Linked DNA regions of Homo sapiens: region 1 is linked to region 2. Evidence: promoter capture Hi-C in 16 types of primary human blood cells and fetal thymus (Javierre and others, 2016). All regions are on one chromosome and are shown on one strand. The core of a region is centred on a gene start or on the middle of the fragment in contact, and the rest is flanking DNA. Distances in the headings are between cores, read along the strand shown.

Region 1 (6,825 bases), core at 124-2,623, 770 kb before region 2:
TGTTCACGAAGTTGTTTGAGATCTGGCTGTAAGACACAGGCAATTGTTACCCATTCATAAGGTCACTTTTTCTTTTTTTTTTTGAGACAGAGTCTCACTCTATTGGAGTGACTGGTGCGATCTCGGCTCACTGCAACCTCCACTTCCTGGGTTCAAGTGATTCTCCTGCGTCAGCCTCCAGAGTAGCTGGGATTACAGTTGTGCACCACCACACCTGGCTAATTTTTGTATTATTAGTAGAGATGGGGTTTCACCGTGTTGGTCATACTGGTCTCGAACTCCTGACCTCAGGTGATCCACCTGCCTCGGCCTCCCACAGTGCTGGAATTACAGATGTGAACCACCACGCCCAGCCCCAGTCACCTTTTAAATTTACTGAATAGACTGATTCATCCTTCTAAGAGAAGGGATAGCCAGGTGCAGTGGCTCACACCTGTAATCCCAGCACTTTGGGAGTCTGAAGTGGGTGGATCTCTTGAGCCCAGGAGTTTGAGACCAGCCTGGGCAACATGGTGAAATCCTGTCTCTACAAAAAATTAGCTGGACGTGGCTGGGCGCGGTGGCTCACGCCTGTAATCCCAGCACTTTGGGAGGCTGAGGAGGGCAGATCACGAGGTTAGGAGATCAAGACCATCCTGGCTAACACGGTGAAACCCCATCTCCACTAAAAAAAAAAAAAATACAAAAAATTAGCTGGGCATGGTGGCAGGCACCTGTAGTCCCAGCTACTCGGGAGGCTGAGGCAGGAGAATGGCGTGAACCCAGGAGGCAGAGCTTGCAGTGAGCCGAGATATAGCCACTGCACTCCAGCCTGGGTGATAGAGCAAGACTCCGGCTCAAAAAAAAAAAAAAAATTAGCTGGACGTGGTGGTGCATGCCTGTAGTCCCAGCTTCTCGGGAGGCTGAGGCAGGAGGATTCACACCCAGGAGGCGGAGGTTGCAGTGAGCTGAGATCGTGTCACTACACTCCAGTCTGGGTGACAGCACGCAACTCTGTCTCAAAAATAAATAAATAAATAAATAAATAAATAAATAAATAAATAATAAATAAATAAATAAAAATGGTAACCCTAGTTTGCATAATGGTTTTGAGCTATGAACCTAGACTTAAAGGGAATACATTGAATAAATCGAATGACCATGGAGAATTAGATGAGACCTGTTGTAACCAAGTGACTTGTTTTCTTATTTTGTGTATTTGGGTCTCAACTTCCCCAAAGAAATTTATCCAGGTGTGGCATGTAGTATTAGCAATAGCACAGACATTTCCTTATCCAACCAATAAATAATATAGAGCAAATTCATCATCTAGTATCCCACAACTGGGATGCATTAAAGCCGAGTGAACAACAGTTCTATTAGGGATGTTGCCAAAGTTACCCACTAGGTGGCCTAAAGGATCTCTTAGGTCAGGTTCTGTCAAGTTACCAGCAGAAGCTACTGATTGGGAAGTTTCAGTTGCATCATTATCCTGCCAAGTGGAAAAAATTGGCATAAGCAGGGAAGAATTAAGAGGGACAAGAGGCTCATGATGGGGACTCTTGTTCTGTTGTCTTGGGAAAAGCCACCCACAGCATGAAGCCATCAACTGCTTGTCCTGGTTTACAGTTAGACTGTCTCTGCTCATGGCATGAGGCAGTCCAGTGAACTTTCTATATGGTCCATAGATCACACACAAGACTCATCCCTTAAAATTCATTTAGTTTCAGCTTATAGTGCCTTAGGAACAGAGCAATTCCCATTCTTAGTATTCTATGGAAGAAAGTTGGATTGGAGGAACCAAAAATAATTTAGGGTCAGGTGGGTACGGTGGCTCACGCCTGTAATCCCAGCATCCCGTGCACGCCTCAACCAGGGTAAAAATCTTTATGCTGTATGCAGGCAGATGTGCACAGAAATAGAACTAAAAATGGTCTATAACTGATTCCCTTGAGCTCGCAAGTCCCCACTCTTGCTCACGGCAAAAGAGAGAAAGGAAATAACACCAGGAACATGCTCATCAGAGCTAACTCAGCCTCTTCAGTCTTCCAAAACTCCCTTCCTCATTAACGCGTCAAGATTAAAGTTCAAGTTCAGGTTCAAGTTCCGATCAAGTGTCTCTCCCTGCTCCTTTCTGAGATGCTGCTAGGGTGCGGGGTAACTAGGGCACCCTCCTGGCTCCTGCCTCTCAGCCATGGCCAGGGCGGTTCCTGGACCTTCCGTCCTGGTGTCCACGAGGCGATACCATCATGCATTATTCTCAACCTCCAGCCCAGGGCTCCCAGCCTGGCCTCTGTACCCCAATCTCAGTCTTTTGATTCATCAGGGCCTGGGCTGCTTTTCCCACTCCACACTAGAGAGTGTAGGCTGGGTGTAGCCTCACACTAGATCTGTGAGGCTGCCTTCCAGGCCACTGTCCTAGACCCTTTCCTGGCCATTTCCAAAGCATGCCTGAGCAGCCCCTGTCGTTCTGCTGCCATGCTCACCGCAGGCCTTGCTACCACTGTGTTAACCCCGAGGAGGGAATCAGGACGCTGACATCTGATCTCCTGTGTCTTCCTACTGATGGGAACTTCCCTAAGTCACACCTTCAGACCCTGTGCACTGCTTATAATCCAAGTCCAGGATTCTGTTATTTACGTCTTAAAGCAGAGCCTTTGGAATTTAGAAAATCTCTTTTTTCTCTGAAAGCTCAGTTTCAAGACTACCGAATCACATGCACTTGGAGTCAGTCTTAATACTTAAAAGTGAAAGCGTCTTTCTTTCTCATCACCTACCTACTATGAAAATCATAATTATCCTTGAGGCCAACAGAAGCTTCTGACTGAATAAGAGAAGGAAAAAATATTAATACATCTAAGATAGTATCTGGCCAGGTGCGGTGGCTCATGCCTGTAATCCCAGCACTTTGGGAGGCTGAGGTGGGCAGGTCATTTGAGGTCAGGAGTTCGAGGCCAGTCTGGCCAACATAGTGAAACCCTGTCTCTACTAAAAATACCAAAAAGAAAAAAAAAAAAAAGAGCCTGGCATGGTGGCACACACCTGTAATCCCAGCTACTCGGGAGGCTGAGGCACGAGAATCGCTTGAACCCAGGAGATGGAGGTTGCAGTGAGCCAAGATTGCACCACTGCACTCCCGCCTGGGTTACAGAGTGAAACCCTGTCTCGAAAAAAAAAAAAAAGATAGTATCCCTCTTTTACTTGTAGCATAGCACTTATCACAAATGTACTAGAATTGTTCCATATCTGTCATCCTAAATAGAGAGGAATTACTTAAAGGAAGGGCACAAATCTTACTCACTTTTTATGTCAAGTGCCTAAATATTGTGCCTGGCACTTTATACGCTCCCAGAAACTATTGGATAGATGGATAGGTGGATGAGTGTGTGGATGGGTGGGTGGATGGTGGATGGATGGATGGATGGATGGATGGATATGTGTGTGGGTGGATGGATGGGTGGATGGGTGAAAGGATGGGTGGGTGGGTAAGTGGATAGGTGGGTAGGTGGGTGAAAGGTTGGTGGATGAGTGGATGGGTGGATGAGTGAGTTGTTGGCTGGATGGGTGAGTGGATGGATGGATGGGTGGGTGGATGGATGGGTGGGTAGATGGGTAGTGGATGAGTACATGGGTGGATAGATCAAAAATAAAATGGGGATAAAAGGGATTGGAGATAGGCAAAGGAAGAGGTCATACTTTTTTCCTTGATGCCAACAATAAAAACTCTTAAAGCGTCTTACATGTACCATGACTTGCATCCAGACAACAGGAGACTTCTTGCCAACAGCCACATGAGTAAACCTCCTTGGAAGAAGATCCTCCAGATCTAGTCAAGCCTTCGGATGACTGCAGCCCCAGTGGACACCTTGACTGCAACCTCATTAAGATCTTGAACCAGAACCACCCAGATAAGCCACTCCCAAATTCTTGACCCACAAAAATCGTGAGATAATAAAAGCATCCATTGCTTTAAACCACTAAGTTTTGGGATACTTTGATATGCATCGATAATTAATAAACCTAGCAAACTTCAGCCTGTATCTCATTGTCCAAAACTGTGTCACTTGGCCACCCTGAGATACAGAGGGAGCTGGGAATATAATACGATAGTTGTAGTCATTTTAAAAGGACCATATTAGAACAAAATCGTGGTTCTATTCTTAAGGAAGTGGGGCAGAATGGATACTGGCTGTGCTCTTGGCAGTAACAGCCAAAGGAGGTTACATTTTAGCCAAACCTCACAGGTTGCAAAGGAGAGGAAGGGCATTTGGAGCTGAGAAAACAGCCTAATCAAAGGTATAGAGGCAAGAGAGTTCCTAACGAGAGCAGGGAATGGCTCCTAGTAAGTTCTGGGTAAATGCTAGCCCATGACTATTAATATACATAAGCAGAGGATTCTGTAGAAAGGATTTGTATTTTAACCTAAACTGTAAATACATATTGCATTATAGAATGAGGCATGAAACTGACTCATAAATGTGAGCTATCGTTATTTCTGGCTCTCTACTTTAGCTGTGTTCAGTTCCTTGGGTTAATTCCTAACAAGCCTGTGCTTTCTCTTGCATTTGCTCTGCTGCTGTTGCCAGAGGTCTGCCTTTTTCATGAGTCTTAAAGATCCAGCTGCAGTTTTGTGTATCCTCTATTCATTTTTTTCTTTGATTAATTTCTGTTTTTATCTTTATGATTTTCTTGTTTCATTCCTTCTACTTTTGTTTTTGTTGTTTTATTCTACTCTTTTTCTTACTTTTAGAGTTGGACACTTAGCTCATGAATTGGGAATCTTCTTATTCTTTTTTTTTTTTTTTTGAGATACAGTTTCATTCTGTCACCCAGGCTGGAGTGCAGTGGCGTGATCTCAGCTCACTGCAACCTCCGCCTCCCAGGTTCAAGCCATTCTCCTGCCTCAGCCTCCCGAGTAGCTGGGATTACAGGCAAGTGCCACCACACCTGGCTAATTTTTGTATTTTTAGTAGAGACGGGGTTTCACCAGGTTGGCCAGGCTGGTCTTGAACTCCTGACCTCAAGTGATCCACCCACTTTGGCCTCCCCAATTGCTGGGATTACAGGTGTGAGCCACTGCGCCCAGCCTTTTTTTTTTTTTTTTTTTTTGAGACAGGGTCTCACTCTGTCATGCCGCCCAGGCTAGAGTGCAGTGGCACAAACACAGCGCACTGCAGCCTCAACCTCCTGGGCTCAAATGATCTTCCTGTCTCAGCCTCCCAAGTCGCTGGGACTACAGGTGTCCACCACCACGCCCGGCTAATTTTTGTAAAGATGGGGTTTCACCATGTTGCTCAGTCTGGCCTTGAACTCCCAAGCTCAAGCAGTCTACCTATCTTGGCCTCCTAAAGTGTTGGGATCACAGGCATAAGCCACCAGGCCTGGCTGAATCTTCTTCTTTTCTAATGTGCGCAGTTAAGGCTGTAAATTTCCCTCTGCATACTCCTTTAGTGATATTCTTCGAGATTTATCACACAGTGACTTAATTATCTTTCAGTTCTAAATATTTTCTGATTTCCCTTATGATATCTTCTTTAACTTTTATGTTAGGCAATCCATGAATTTAAATTTTAAAACATACGGGTTTAGAAAATCATTTTATAATGTCTTTCTAACCTGATTGCATTGTAGCCAAATACCAATTTATTGTACGTGTTGAGCATGACACTGCGACCTGCTACACATGCAGTCTAAAAAAACTTTTTTTTTCATTTCAGTCTTAAAATTATTTCTTCAAAGACAACATGTACAATTTTTGTAAAAGTACTATGTGTGCTTGGAAAGATATAGTCTCTAATTCTTGGGTATAGGAGTCTCTTATTGCCCATTCATCTTTAGGAGAATATCTCCATTTTTGCCTGCTTGGTCTGTCAATTCCTGAGAGATGGATAGGATGCAGATTATGACTTTCTACTGTAATATTACATGTGGTGGCCATGGACTTACACCGCTCAGATTCCCCTTCAAAGGGACCTGACCCCAGTTGCTCCCAGGCAATGACTAATCACCAAGGGGGTGCTGGAGCCCCACCACATCTGCCTGGTGCAAGACTCCTCTAACAGTCATTGCTTGGAGACTCATCATCTGCCTGGCCAAGCTTGCTCAGAGTCCTGCTGCAGCCTGAGGCTTCCTTCTTCCCTCCCTCCTTTATACGTCAGACCTGCCTCTGTGGCCTGAAGGCTCTCCTGCTACTTCTTTGCTTCAGTCTCACTCTGTCTCCCAGCCTGGAGGGCAATGGCATGATCACTGCTCACTGCAGCCTCAACTTCCAGGGCCCAATGCAATCCTCCTGCCTCAGCCTCCGAAGTGGCTGGGACCACAGGCATGTGCCTTAGTGCCTAATTATTTTATTTTTCGTAGAGATGGGGGTCTCCCTATGTTGCCCAGGCTGGTCTCAACCCCCTGACCTCAAGCAATCCTCCTGCCTTGGCCTCCCAAAGTGCTGGGATTACAGGCATGAACCACCATGCCCAGCCCCTAGCCTGCTTCTGCACTCTCTCCCCTTCATCCTTCGCCAGATCTCTTGTGTATCTAATGCCATCTTGGTGTTTATTTCTTGAAATCCAAACTAGCACAGGGAATTTGTCCATTTCTCCTTGTAATTCTGACAATTCTTGACGTATTTTGGGGTACATGAAAGTTCTTATATATTGCTGATGAATTGTTCCTATTATTGTATATGATAATCCTAATTCTTAATAGCACACTTTATCAAATGTCTATGCCCCTGAACAATACATAGTATTGTTCTATATTTTTGCAACTTTAAAGTTGTTTTGAAGTATTCCTCTCCAATTTATGTTTTTGAGGTTTATTCATGTAGATATGTGTAGTTGCAGTTTATTT
Region 2 (7,677 bases), core at 3,828-6,327:
TGGCCGGGCATGGTGGCACATGCCTGTAATCCCAGCTACTCGGGAGGCTGAGACAGGAGAATTGCTTGAACTCAGGAGGTGGAGGTTGCAGTGAGCTGAGATCACGCCACTGGACTCCGGCCTGGGCGAAAGAGCGAGACACCATCTCAAAAAAAAAAAAAAAAAGGGTAAGAATTGTCAATGCGGTACAGCAAAAAAAAACCCCATGTGCTCTGGTGTCTATGACAGACCTGGGATAAAATTCTAGTTCTGTCACTTGTTAGCATAAATTCCCTGAAGCTTGGAGATCATCCTAGCTCCCTTAAAAATTGTCTTGGCAGTTAAAAGCCTGAAAAGTCTCTGGCACAGAAAAGCAGTAAATACAAGTTAGCTGCCTTCCTCCCTGAAAGGGCTCATTCCACTGGACATTACCGTCACATTAAAAGAAAGAACATCAGATAAAATTTAATCTATCATACTTCACACATGAAGATATTAAGGCACAGGAGAGGGAAAGTAAGTTGAGCAGGGTCATACCTAGGTCAGCAGACTCCATTCTGGTCCTGTACAAAGACCGTGTATACTGGACTCTTTGAAGAATTTTTATTTTTGTTGAGACGGGACTCTTGCTCTGTCACCCAGGCTGGAGTGTGGTGGCACGAACTGGTCTCACTGCAACCTCCACCTCCAGGGTTCAAGCAATTCTCATGCCTCGGCCTCCCAAGTAGCTGGGACTACAGGCACGCGCCACCACACTGAGCTAATTTTTGTTATTTTTAGTAGAGATGGGGGTTTTACCATGTTGACCAGGCTAGTCTCTAACTCTTGACCTCAAGTGATCTACCCACTTCAGCCTCCCAAAGTGCTGGGACTACAGGCATGAGCCACCACGCCCGGCCAACATTTCCCATTTTCATCTTCTTACTTTTACTAACTTCTTGGCTCTAGTAAAGTCAGTTACTGTAAAATGCATCTTGGATCTTAGAAAAAGGGCCATTTCTACATCATTATGACAAAACAATTTGCTGATAAAGTATTACAATACAAAAAACCTAAATCATCTAAGATCATTTTTCCAAGAGCCCCAAAAGCAGATATACATACTATACATTCAAAACTCATGTCAAATTTCCCTCTTAATCTTACCAAAAAGCACACTTATGAAGTGGATGCAGACTCTCTGATCCTGAGACACCAGTTGCGTGACCAGGGAGGTATGCCTCACAAGGGCATCTTGGAAGCAGGACAACATGTGCTTCTTGCGCACTAACTTGAAGCAAATGAAGAAAAACATTCAATAGCAACCAAATTTTGGCTATTCTGAATCCAACAACCGTAATTTCCAAATACAATTACAAGATGATACAAGGGATCATTTAAACTACGGTGAGATCCATACTCCTTCAAGGGAGGTTGGAAAAGGATATCATTTACGCAGAGGAATCCATGTATTCATACAGAAGATTATACATGAGCTAAGGTTCCTAATGCCCTATATTTACATAGCAATTTATTTTTCACAAATCATTTTTGTCCACCAGCTCATTTAAGCCTAACAAGTTGGTGAGGAAAGCAAAAACAGAGGCCGGGCCCGGTGATTCACACCTGTAATTCCAGCACTTTGGGAGGCCAAGGCGGGCGTATCACGAGCTCAAGAGTTCCAGACCAGCATGGCCAACATGGTGCAACTCTATCTCAACTAAAAATAAAAAAATTACTCGGGCATGGTGGCAGGTGCCTGTAAACCCAGGGAGGCGGAGGTTGCAGTGAGCCGAGATAGCGCCACTGCATTCCAGCCTGGGGGACAAGAGCAAGATTTTGTCTCAAAAAAAAAAGAAAAGAAAAGTGTGTTCAGAGGCCGGGCATGGTGGCTCACGCCTGTAATCCCAACATTTTGGGAGGCCGAAGCAGGCAGATCACCTGAGGTTGGGAGTTCGAGACTGGCCTGACCAACATGGAGAAACCCGGTTTCTACTAAGAATACAAAATTAGCTAGGCGTGGTGGCGCATGCCTATATCCCCAGCTAATTGGGAGGCTGAGGCAGGAGAATCACTTGAATCTGGGAGGGGAGGTTGCGGTGAGCCAAGATCGCGCCATTGCACTACAGCCTGGACAAGAGGAAAACTGTCTCAAAAAAAAAAAAAGAAAAAAAGTGTGTTCAAGCCGGGTGCAGTGGCTCACACCTGTAATCCCAACTTTGGGAGGCCAATGTGGGTGGCTCACCTGAGGTCAGGCATTCGAGACCAGCCTGGCCAACATGGTGAAACCTCTTCTCTACTAAAAATACAAAAATTAGCCGTGCATGGTGGCAGGCGCCTGTAATCCCAGCTACTCAGAAGGCTGAGGCAGAAGAATCGCTTGAACCTGGGAGGCAGAGGTTGCAGTGAGCCAAGATTGCGCCATTGCACTCCAGCCTGGGCAACGAGAGCGAAACCATCTCAAAAGAAAAGTGTGCTCAATAAAAGGTAGAAGTTGCATCTCTTATTGCTTCTCATCTGTGCTACTGTAAGGCTCCTGTTTTTCCTTCACCAATTCATCCTACGTAATAGATTAAGGTAGTGATCTATATGAGCTACTCAAAAAATCCTAGTAACTCTCCTTCATCTGACAGATTATGTTCAAGCTCCTTAGCTGGGTTTCAAACTCTTCAAGTAACTGTCCTCAACCTGTCTCTCCAATCTCATCTCTTTCACTTTCCCTTCAAACACTCTGATTATCCCCAAAACCCATCCTTATAATACCTACCTCCTGGGATAATCAGCCTCCCACTTCCTCTGGTCCAAATCTCACCCATCTTCTTAAACCTAATTTGAATGCTTCCTCCTCTAAGAAACCTTTCCTAATTCCTCTCCTTACCCTGAACAGCACTTGACTACAAACATGTTCATTCTTCTAAGTTCTAACATGTTCTCTTATTTCTCCCCGCTGCACTGTCTTATTCATCTCTGATTTACTGTCCAAGAAAAGCAGCCTCAGAATTTCCATCCTTAATGAAAATTCAGAGGTTATTAGCTAGTTTACGAGTTCCCAGAGCACAGTGTGGGAATTCCTAAGGGTGCCTAAAACACTTCCCAGAGGTCCACAAGAACAAAAATATTTTCATATAATATTAAAATGTTCTTAGTCTTCCTCATTTTTTTTTAAATTTTTTCCATGTTGGCCAGGCTGGTCTTGAACTTCTGGCCTCGTGATCCAACCACCTCGGCCTCCCAAAGTGCTGGGATTACAGGTGTGAGCCACCGGACCCGGCCCAGTCTTTCTCATTCTTATTCTCCCACAAGTGTACAGTGGAGTTTTTGAGACTATATGACATGATAGCACAACAGACTGAATGCAGAAATAGATAAAAATCCAGCTGTTTGGCCGGGTGTGGTGGCTCACGTCTTTAATCCCAACACTTTGGGAGGCTGAGGCAGGCAGATCACCTGAGGTTGGGAGTTCAACACCAACCTGACCAACATGGAGAAACCCCGTCTATACTAAAAATACAAAATTAGCTGGGCGTAGTGACGCATGCATGTAATCCCAGCTACTCGGAAGGCTGAGGCAGGAGAATCGCTTGAACCCGGGAGGCGGAGGTTGCGGTGAGCTGAGATTGCGCCATTGCACTCCAGCCTGGGCAACAAGAGTGAAACTCCATCTCAAAAAAAAAAAAAAAAAGAAAGAAAGAAATCAAAATATTTGAGAACGCAGCCAGGCACGGTGGCTCACAGATGCAATCCCAACACTTTGGACTTTGGGAGGTCAAGGCAGGAGAATTGCTTGAGACTAGGAGTTCAAGACCAGCCTGGGCAACACAGGGAGACCCCCGGGACCGTTTCTACAAAAAAAAAAAAAAAAAAAAAAAAAATTGAGAACTGCTGATCTAGCCAATCCACCCACTCACGAATTCCCCTCCCATGAATTGGAGAGAAACTTGACCTCCCAAAGTCTTCTTGGATGCCTCCATGGACAAGAAAACTCACTGCAGGTCGGGCACCGTGGCTCACGCCTATAATCCCAGCACTATGGGAAGCCGAGGCGGGTGGATCACCTGAGGTCAAGAGTTCGAGACCAGCCTGGCCAACATGATGAAACTCCGTCTCTACTAAAAATAGAGAAATTAGCCGAGCGTGGTGGCGGGAGCCTGTAATCCCAGCTACTGGGTAGGTTGAGGCAGGAGAATCGCTTGAACCCAGGAAACAGAGGTTGCAGTGAGCGGAGATGGCGCCATTGCACTCCGGCCTGGGTGTCAGAGCGAGACTCCGTCTCGAAACAAACAAAACCACTTCATTGCAAACGCGGTAGGCAATGAGGACCCAGGCAGCCCGCTTTGGCCAGCTCTGCCCAAGGAACAGTCTTCCCGTTCACCCCCACTTCTGCCCGGCTGTAACCTGTCACTCCTGTCCCCTCGGAGCCCAGACTGCCCCTCCTCCGATTCACACCCCGACAGCTGAAGGGAATGAGGAGCGGCCGCCGCATGCGCCCCTGGCCCGCAGGTGAGTGGAGGCTGAAATGGCGGGAGGCTGAAATGGCGGGAGCCTGAGCTAAGGCCGAATCCCCGGGAAATGGAGGCAGGGGCAGCAAAGGGAAGGAGCCAGAAGGCGGAAGGCGGGAAGGTGTGTCCCTGAGACTGGGTGAGGTCCCGGGGGATCCGGATTTCCGTCCTTTCAGGCGCAGAGCCAGTGGACCGGGCTCCACGGAGGCCCGCAGGCCGGCCTGGGGCTGAGGGGCCCGAGAGGCCGCTGCGGCCGGGTCCGGGACGGGCTGACAGGGAGGAGAGTGAACACAGCGCGGGGGCCCGGTTTCGCGTCGGGTTCACCGGAGCGGGTCTGGCAAGGGCCTGGCCGCGTTTGCTGAGGGAAATGGCCAAACCCAGGTCTTCTGAAGAAAAGGTTCCGCCCGCACCGACACGCCGGGGTCCGGCAGCAGCTCCAGCGCGCAGGCCAGGCACAGGCGGGGGGTCACGGGCAGCAGCCAGCGCGGGTCGTGCCGGTAATGGGCCCTCTCGAATAGAAGCGCCGCCTCTTCCTCTCTCCTGGGCCCGGGAGTGCCCGCCGTCGCCGCCTGCCTCACAGCCATCTCCTCGCTTGCCCTCAGCTGAGGCGGCACTCTTTCCCGCGCAGACTGCACGCATGCGCACTTGGAGGACGGACCTGCGTCGGTGTGGAATGCGCCTGCGCGGACCCAGGGCGCTGCAGTCTCAGACGAGCAGCAGCCACTGAGGGCAAGTGGTGGACGCAAGTGCTCTGGATCGTGTCTAGCTAAGCCAAAAGCGGTTTGTGCTTAGAACCCTGCAGGAATGTCTTTACCACATCCAAAGTTGAAAAGCAATTATAAAGTAGGGGGCATTTGCCTTGAAAAAGGAAGGAAAGGAAGCTATTTCTACTGTTTTTTAAAAATGAAGGCCGGGCATGGTGGCTCACGCCTGTAATCCCAGCACTTTGGGAAGCCGAGGTGGGCGGATCACGAGATCTGGAGATCAAGACCATCTTACCCAACATGGTGAAACCCCGTCTCTACTAAAATACAAAAAATTAGCTGGGTGTGGTGGCAAGTGCCTGTAATCCCAGCTACTTGGGAGGCTTGAGGCAGGGGAATCACTTGAACCTGGGAGGCGGAGGTTGCAGTGAGCTGAGATTGTGCCACTGCACTCCAGCCTGGCGACAGAGCAAGACTCTATCTCAAAAAAAAAAAAAAAAAGGAAAATAAGCGATCCCAAGGATTCGCATCTAAAAGCAATTAGAGGCTGGGTGAGTTGGCTCATGCCTGTAATCACAGCACTTTGGGAGGGAGGCTGAGGCAGGAGAATCACTTGAACCTGGGAGGTGGAGGTTGCAGTGAGCCAAGATCGCACCACTGCACTCCAGCCTGGGTGACAGAGGAAGACTCCATCTTAAAAATAAATAAATAAATCAGAAGCTTAAGACCAAAAAATAAAAGTAAAAAAACAAAACAAAACACCAAAGACAGAGAGAAAGAAGTTCAAGACCAGCCTGAGCAACAGGGCGAAACCCCTCCTCTACTAAAAATACAAAAATTAGCTGGGTGTGGTGGCTCATGACTGTAATCCCAGCTACTCGGGAGGCTGAGGCAGCAGAATCGCTTGAACCCAGGAGGCGGAGGTTACAGTGAGCGGAGATCAAGCCACTGAACTCCAGCTTGGGCCACAGACCTACACTCCATCTCAAAAAAAAAAAAAAAAGCGTCCCATGCAGAGGACCACCCCTCCCCATAAGCAGCTGAGGCTTTTGGAGTGTCCTGCCTCAATCAGGATTAGCTTGGAGACAGAGCAGGATAGAACCTCAGTGGACTCCACTGTGAGGAGCTGGGGGGCAGGTGTTTCGGAGAGGACACTGGGTTGACCCACATTCCCTAAACCACAACCACAGAGTGGAAGGGGCTTCTACCCCACCCACAAAGTATCCCAAACCCCGAAAGGGGGCACTTGGAAAATGTGCCAGAGAAATCAGAACACCACAGGGCCCAAATGACCAATTTATTAGAGGCTTTGCAGGGATCAGGACACTCTCAAAGCTTTTCTGATATGTCCTGAGGACTCTGGGCCTGAGTCTACTTTTTAAAGCCATTCTGGAAGAGAAAAAAATTCAGATGCTTCATAATACTAAACTTTTTGGAGGCTCGTGTATTCTGTGGAGCCCCATTTGGGTTCCCAGGTGCCTCCTGGCCCTGGGGACTCTCTGTCTTAGGAAGGGTGGCCCCAGTACAGCAGTGACCTTGCAGCTGAAGATCCCTCTGTGAAGCAGTGTGATCTCCGATGCTGTCCTCCCCTGCACGAGGATCACCCACTTTGGGAGGCAGAGTAGAATCAGGTTCCCTCAGGCTCAGGTTAGGGGCCAAGTGCTTGCGCTTGGCGAGCTGTGGGGACCAGGACATCTTGGCCAGAAGGGTCAGGCCCAGCTTTGCCACCGCAGAGTGGAGCCTCCCTTTGAAGCTGACAGGTTCTGCAGAATGGCAGGAAGGCTGCTGCCCAGCCCCTCTGCACCCTGTAGATTCCAGGCTTCCTCTTCTCCAGTATGTGAGCTGCTGGCATTTGAGTCTGGGGAGCTTAGAGGCCTCCCAGGATGTACATTCCTTCCTCCAGTGGGCGTGGTCTGCCCTAGAGAATGAAGTCCTCACTCTGCTGGGAGCCCTCTCTGCCAGCTGGGAGACCCTTGACCTGATCATTTTCCTGCCCCTACTGTTCTCACTGGGAGGCTCTCCGACCCTTTGTGGGCCACACCAGCTCCTGGACTCCGCTGCCGGCCTGGGGGTCCTGGGAGCTGGGAGCTTGGTCCTAGCAAGCGCTTCCTGGATCTCCTGTGGTTCTCTGGCGCCCCCTGGTGGCCTGACTCTCCTGGCCTTTTCAGGCTGGATGGAAATGCTTAATGGGCTCTGACATGTGCGGTCTGTTCCTCTCCAGAGCTCTGGCTTGTATAGGAAGTTTCGAGCTTTTTCTGTCTGGGCGCTGAACCCTCTGGAACCTCTCTGGGGACTTAAGGCCTGGTGGGGAGCCTTGGGCCTCACAATACCTTTCCTGCTGGGCTTGGAGCTCCTGGCCTGTGTTCAGTCCAGAGAGCCTCGCCCCAGCAAGGGTCAATGAGCAAGATCCTAAGAAGTTAAACAGGAAATAGGACTCCAGGATCCGCCGGGGAAGACCCCACTTCAGGTGTGCAATCCTCCTCCGCATGAGGGACTCCAGGAGCAGTCGTTTGCTC

The links. The method cuts DNA at HindIII sites, captures the fragments that hold promoters and counts their contacts. A CHiCAGO score of 5 or more calls a contact.
Region 1: a contact is called between a fragment that was not itself captured here and the fragment with the promoter of MEI1 in region 2, in 1 of 17 cell types (total B cells). The highest score is 5.1, in total B cells.

The regions. Positions count from the first base shown.
Region 1 is chr22:42,468,272-42,475,096 of GRCh38, reverse strand. No RefSeq gene overlaps it. Among named protein-coding and RNA genes, the nearest start is that of NFAM1, 39 kb to the right of the region's middle. The HindIII fragment of the contact is 2,851 bases long and covers 1-2,798 here.
Region 2 is chr22:41,696,903-41,704,579 of GRCh38, reverse strand. It overlaps MEI1 (meiotic double-stranded break formation protein 1), which reads right to left and starts at 5,077. Exons shown (of 31, transcript NM_152513.4): 1 at 4,868-5,077; 2 at 1,126-1,249. The coding sequence starts at 5,041. It also overlaps the pseudogene C22orf46P. RefSeq lists a silencer at 5,005-5,104 and an enhancer at 7,318-7,677. The HindIII fragment of the contact is 5,602 bases long and covers 282-5,883 here.